Regions from separate parts of the Homo sapiens genome. Here region 1 is linked to region 2. Evidence: promoter capture Hi-C in 16 types of primary human blood cells and fetal thymus (Javierre and others, 2016). All regions are on one chromosome and are shown on one strand. The core of a region is centred on a gene start or on the middle of the fragment in contact, and the rest is flanking DNA. Distances in the headings are between cores, read along the strand shown.

Region 1 (3,212 bases), core at 191-2,690, 99 kb before region 2:
GTGTATATCCTTTGAGAACAGCACAACATAGTTAGGTTAGCAGCAGCTGGCAGTGAGGCTGCAGTTTCCAAGTACAGAGCTGAACAAGAAGCCAGAATTTAGAGGGAGCTGCTTCCAGGATAAGGTAGAAGAGCCACAAGTCAGGGGCTTTGGGCCAGTGGGAAGTGACCTGGGGCCAAATCATGACTCTCAGCCACTGCCTTACCTGACATTCCCTGCTGAAAAGGGGAAAAGGCCTAGACCATCACAGTCTGTCTTTGGAGCTTAAGAACTTGACCTCTTTGCTTGACACACTCCCATGTGAGTGCTTAAAGTTAGTAGTCATTTATATTCTTTTCCAGGAAACTGCTAGGTTGACTCCTCGTCAATAGGCTTTTTTTTTTTTAATCTATTGAGACAGAGTCTTGCCCTATCATCCAGTCTGGAGTGCAGTGGTGAAATCATAGCTGACTACAACCCCCACCTCCTGAGCTCAAGTGATCCTTCCCCACTCAGCCTCCTGAGTAGCTGGGTCTATAGGCTCGTGCCACTATGCCCAGCTATTTTAAAATGTTTTGTAGAGATGGGGTCTCGCCATGTTGCTCAGGTTGGTCTGGAACTTCTGACCTCAAGCAATCCTCCCGCCTTGGCCTCTTGAAGTGCTGAGATTACAGGCATGACCACTGTGCCCAGGTAACAGGTGTCTGAGAATGTCTATCAGCCAGACTCCACGGCTCCCTTTTCCCCTTCTGACACGGCATGGTAGACAAGTGTGAGGTCTCAGAAGAGGCTGCCTCAGCCATGGTCCCACTTCCAGTTACATGTGTGTCCTCAGACTTGCTCAGAAGAGGCTGCCTCAGCCATGGTCCCACTTCCAGTTACATGTGTGTCCTCAGACTTGCCACTTGAACCTCTCTGGGTGTAGAAACAAGGGATGAAATTACCTCCAAGGACTTCTCTGTGGTCACATTCTGTGAAAGGCTATTGGATTTAATTCTCTGTGGTTCACCTTCCCTGACTTTGGTAAAAATGATGGTTGAAAGAATGGATGAATTTTTATTTGTAGAATCACCTTCTTTTAATGTCAAAGAAGCTTTATTCCAAAGGAATAAAAAAATTGAGTGGTCTCGTTCCCAGGATATACATACACTCTGCTGAACAGGTTTTGAACCGTGTAATACCTTAGAGGTATGTCTCACCCCCCTGGAGGGTGCAGTAAGGGTTCTGAAGGAGGCGATGGTAGAGGAGACAAAGAAATGCCAGCAAGTGGCTAAGCATTTGGTGGGCACATGTATGGCCAGCAACCCTGTTTGCACCTTTTCTTTCCCTGCTATTTATGTTGAAAAGCAAGCTAAATGTAAAGCTGCACTTTTTGATGTAGCACTAGATGTCAATTCTAGCATTAATATTTTGAATCCATAGGGAATCTGCACATCTCATTTCAGTCACTAATTTGAACAGAACTCCTCCTCCCATTCCAAAAAAAGAAGCTAAATATGGAATTGTATATATTGAATTTAAGATGTAAAGTTTCTCTGTGTCTCTGTTCACTTTCCCAGTAGCAGTCTTTAAAAAGCACGATACAATTAAACAGCAGAATCAAAGCAAAGGGAGTATAAAGGGCTCCAGATAATTCCCAGTTTGGGTTATCAGCTCCCACACAATGGAGAGTTGATTATTTTTCCTTTATTTTAGGGAAGGTAAAAGTCCATGGAGGTGAGAAAAGTACACCTGGAAGAGATCTGAAATATTCCTGATTCTGGATAAGTGTGCCTGTACAATGACCCATGGTTGGCTTTGGAATATACCATTAAAGTACTGGAGGTCAGAAAAGCTTCCTTCACAAATTTGGTTAGGTGGAGCAGGTTGCTAAAACATCCAGCAACCCTGGAGGTCATAGACCACGCTAGGAGAAATAATTATGCATGGTAATGGGCAATTACAGATAATGGCCTTCCGGGGGTGGCAGAAAATACACAGCCCCACAGCCTTGCCTGGAATGAACATTGAATAGCACATTAACTTTATAGCAAGCTAAAAGTTCAGCCCTGGAACTGCAGCTGCTGCCCCCCCCCCACCCAATAAAAATGTCTGCCTGTCTTAAGGTAATCACAGGAGTGGCTGCACTTCTCAAAAGCAGAGTCGAATAAAGGAGGAGATGGGACTGTGGGAGACAGACTTTGGAAAAGGGAAGGAATGGTGCACTCTACTCCACTGGGTTGCATTTGCCTCACTAAGTAGAGGTGGTGGCTTGCAGGAGGTGCACAGTAAGCAGTTGTTGCTTTCCTGGCGCCAGGTTTGTGTTTGACGTTTAAAATAGCCCTGTCATGATTGCCTTGTGGGAGAAACACATTGTTCCCGCATTTCCTGATTATGACTTTAGGGAGTAATATCACACCAAACGCACTCAAGGCTACTGTCTGACCTCAGAGAAGGCCAGGAGTGGAAGATTCCAAGTTCAGCTGAGCTTGGGAAGCCTGGCCAGGTGCAGCCCAGCCCTCCTGCAGTACCCTAATGATGAGGATTTGGAGCAAGGATAACTTTGTGCGGAGTTATTTGGTGGCTCTCTTGCTTGATGGCAGAAAACGTTATGGCCGTGTTGTGATTGTGATAACAATAATAGCTAACATTTATTGAGCACTCAACACGTGGCAGAGCCTTTCTAAGTACATGTCTTCTCTCATATAATTCTCAAGTAGTAGTAGTATTTCTTTGCTACGTGCAAAGGCTGGGACATGCAAAACGTATATAACTTGCCCCATGATTGCATGGCATTAGATTTCAGATCCGATCAATTACTTTTGCTTGGGACCAGTGCTCTCAACCTGAAGTTGTGCTGCCTGGCCATATTGTGTCATTCTTAATGCCTGTTTCATGGAAAGAAATATTTCAGACATAAGGATAAAGCCAGAGCTGCCTGGTTAGGACTTTATTGCTGTCTACTAATAACACAACCCTGAGAGCCAGCTCAGAATAAGATGCCAGGCTCTAATTCTCTCAAATCAGTCCCCCTAAAAAGACAGGGGCTGTTAAGATGGAAGTTCTCAAACTTTTTACTTGCAGAATCTCTCTACAACCTTAAAAAGTATTGAGGACCTCAAGAGCTTTTATTTATGTGGGTTATATCTATCGATACCATACTGGAAACTAAAATTGAGAAATGAAAAAAAAATTATGCTTTTAAAATAATAAACTCATTACCTCTTAGCATACGTAACATACTTCAATAAAAA
Region 2 (2,843 bases), core at 176-2,675:
AGAGGAAAGTTTTCAGGTTGCTTGCTTACTTCCAGGGCAGTACAGAGAAAAGCGGCCTCCCCGAGGGGACAAGGGCCTCTGTGCCCATGAGGGGTCGGACATTGCAGCGGACTTGCCTACGCTCTCATCTAGCATTTGATTCCCCACCAGGAGATGGGCTTGGTGCACGCTCTCAGAAGCGCATCCACCGAAGGCTCTGGAACTGCCCCGCTTCGCATAGAGCTATTGTGCTGCCCTGCAGTGTATCCACTTGTTTTGTTTGTTTGTTTGTTTTTTGGTTTTTGCTTGTTTGCTGATGGGCAGTGGGGAGGTGCGAGGGTGGAGGGCCTTCTTTGTGCATATATAGCGATAGTCTGCACTAGGCCAAGCCCGCTACTCCTGGGAGAATGGGAACACGCAAATAATCTAAACAAAGTTTTCTGCTGTCATCTTGTGAAGGACCCTCTCCCCCAAGACATCTATGACTGGGGTCTATGGGTTAAGGAGGTGAAAAAGTGGCCCCATCCCATATCCATAACTGAATCACAGAATCCGTGGGGATTTGAACTGAGTGGCTGGCGCAAGACCTCCGTTTGCTTCCAGTAGCTGCTGGGAGCGAGGGAAGAGGATATCGGTAACTTTGGGGGCGCCAATGTGGCTTCTGTGTCTGCCCCTTGAAAGTTTATACCCGGCGCTTAACAAATCCTTTACAGGAGCACGTACGTCCCTGACCTTTCAGGATACTGTTTTATATTAAAACATGGACAGGAGGGTAGAAAAGTAAAATTCGCCTGCAAAATGGCTTGTCATCCTTGGGCCGGCAGATCTCCAAAACCATTTTCTTCTAAAGCAACAAAAGAGAAAAAAATACGTTCTAAAAGGAAATTACGAAAAGAGCCTAACTTTCCTAAACCAACATCACTTCACTCCCCTATCCTAAACTCCACCCAGGTCCGGGGTGCAACCGCAACACTCCCGTAGGTTCGAGTTCTCCCGGAGCTGAGCTTCTGCGGCCAAATGTCGGGATAAAAGCGGCCTTGGGCTCGGAAAAACGCGGCCAGATCTGGACTGGAGGGAGGAGAAGAGAGAGAAGCGGAGCGGCCACCTCACTCGCTTACAGGCACCCCCACCCTCACTCCCGCTGGTCCTCCCCTTCTCCGCCCCGCGAGCACCGCCGCGTTCTGGAGCGCCGCAGTCTCCAGCCGCGGGCTGGGGTAGCGGAGAGGGCTTGGAGGAGGGGGCCGCGAGCGCCCCCGCGAGAGTGGCCTGGCTGCAGGTGGCAAGGAAGGTGAAGTGCAGGCACCCGAGGGGCGCAAAGGAGGAGGAAGGCGTGGGGCGGGGAGTGCAAGGAGACAGGGACCCCAGGGGCGGGGGTGGCGGTGGGAAGGAGGAGGGGTTGGGGGAGGGCGGCGGAGGTGTTGGGTCCGGCCGGCTCACGAGGGAGCTGCAGAAGAGCTGGCTCAGACCTTAATCAGAGCTGTCGCCGGCTCCTTGCAGCCGCCGCAGCGCCTCCGCGAAGGAGGACGTGCCGACCCGGCTGCGCGCCCAAGGCAGAGGCCCGCGTCGGCGTTGGCTGGGCGTGAGCTGGGAGGCCGAGCTGTGAGCGCGAAGGGAGCTGGAGAGACGACTGCGGCACCTCCGGCCGCCCCGGAGCACACACGACCACCGGGGCTGCGGGACCAAGGGCCGCGTCGCCCGGAGGCCGCCCCTGAGCGGGCCTCGCAGCCCCGCCGTCCAGCGCTCCCTGGCCCTCTCCCGCAGCCAGGCTGCCAACTCATTCGGGAGCCCGGGGCATGAACGGCTACGGCTCCCCCTACCTGTACATGGGCGGCCCGGTGTCGCAGCCGCCACGGGCGCCCCTGCAGCGCACGCCCAAGTGCGCGCGCTGCCGCAACCATGGCGTCCTGTCCTGGCTCAAGGGCCACAAGCGTTACTGCCGCTTCAAGGACTGCACCTGCGAGAAGTGCATCCTCATCATCGAGCGGCAGCGGGTCATGGCTGCGCAGGTGGCGCTGCGCCGGCAGCAGGCCAACGAGAGCTTGGAGAGCCTCATCCCCGACTCGCTGCGCGCTCTGCCAGGGCCCCCGCCGCCGGGGGACGCCGTCGCCGCCCCGCAGCCGCCGCCAGCCTCTCAGCCGTCGCAGCCGCAGCCGCCGCGCCCTGCTGCCGAGTTGGCCGCGGCCGCCGCGCTGCGTTGGACTGCCGAGCCGCAGCCCGGGGCTCTGCAGGCGCAGCTCGCCAAGCCAGGTAAGAGCGTCTGAGGTGCGGGAGTTTGGCCGGGCGCGGGGGCAACTTCGGAGTGCCAGCTGCAGCTCCACTTGGGAGGACTGGAGGCAAAGTTTTGGGACGTGGGCCTGTCGGGGCTTTCCTTCCTACTCTCCGCCAGGCCGGGGCTTCCTCTCCCGGGAGAAGCCGGCTGAGTCTGGACCCAGCGCGAGTGGCACTCGCGCCCGCAGGGAAGGCGCCTCCGGGCAGCCAAACGACGGGACTGTGCGTCAGTATCGCCAGGTGCCTTCCCAGGTTGAAGGGTTCGGAACGTGTCAGATTGAGCAGGGAGACAACGGAGTTGAGACAGGACAAAATTAAAACCCACGTGCGCACACTCACTACGGTGGGGTCGGATTTTCCTGGCTGCAGGCTTTAGAGGTCCTTGCCATTTGGGGGTTGGAATGGGTAGGTAGGTGTAGGGAAGGAGCCAAGGCCAACACTCGGCTGAGTCGAGCTGGCTGTGCTTCTCGGCCGGCCCGGCCCTGCCCAGGGCCCAGGAAAATTTGAGTGAGGACAAGTATCCAACTCTCAGAACCCTGGCCTTTCTAGCTTTGCTCCGTGGCCTCCAGACTCTTGTAACTGGTGAAATAAGTTCC

What was found. The method cuts DNA at HindIII sites, captures the fragments that hold promoters and counts their contacts. A CHiCAGO score of 5 or more calls a contact.
Region 1: a contact is called between a fragment that was not itself captured here and the fragment with the promoter of DMRT3 in region 2, in 1 of 17 cell types (monocytes). The highest score is 5.2, in monocytes.

Annotation. Positions count from the first base shown.
Region 1 is chr9:876,156-879,367 of GRCh38, forward strand. The region is part of intron 2 of DMRT1 (doublesex and mab-3 related transcription factor 1); the gene reads left to right. Among named protein-coding and RNA genes, the nearest start is that of DMRT1, 36 kb to the left of the region's middle. The HindIII fragment of the contact is 741 bases long and covers 1,071-1,811 here.
Region 2 is chr9:975,230-978,072 of GRCh38, forward strand. It overlaps DMRT3 (doublesex and mab-3 related transcription factor 3), which reads left to right and starts at 1,426. Exons shown (of 2, transcript NM_021240.4): 1 at 1,426-2,226. The coding sequence starts at 1,773. RefSeq lists enhancers at 1-59, 592-1,093, 1,094-1,593. The HindIII fragment of the contact is 15,659 bases long and covers 1-2,843 here.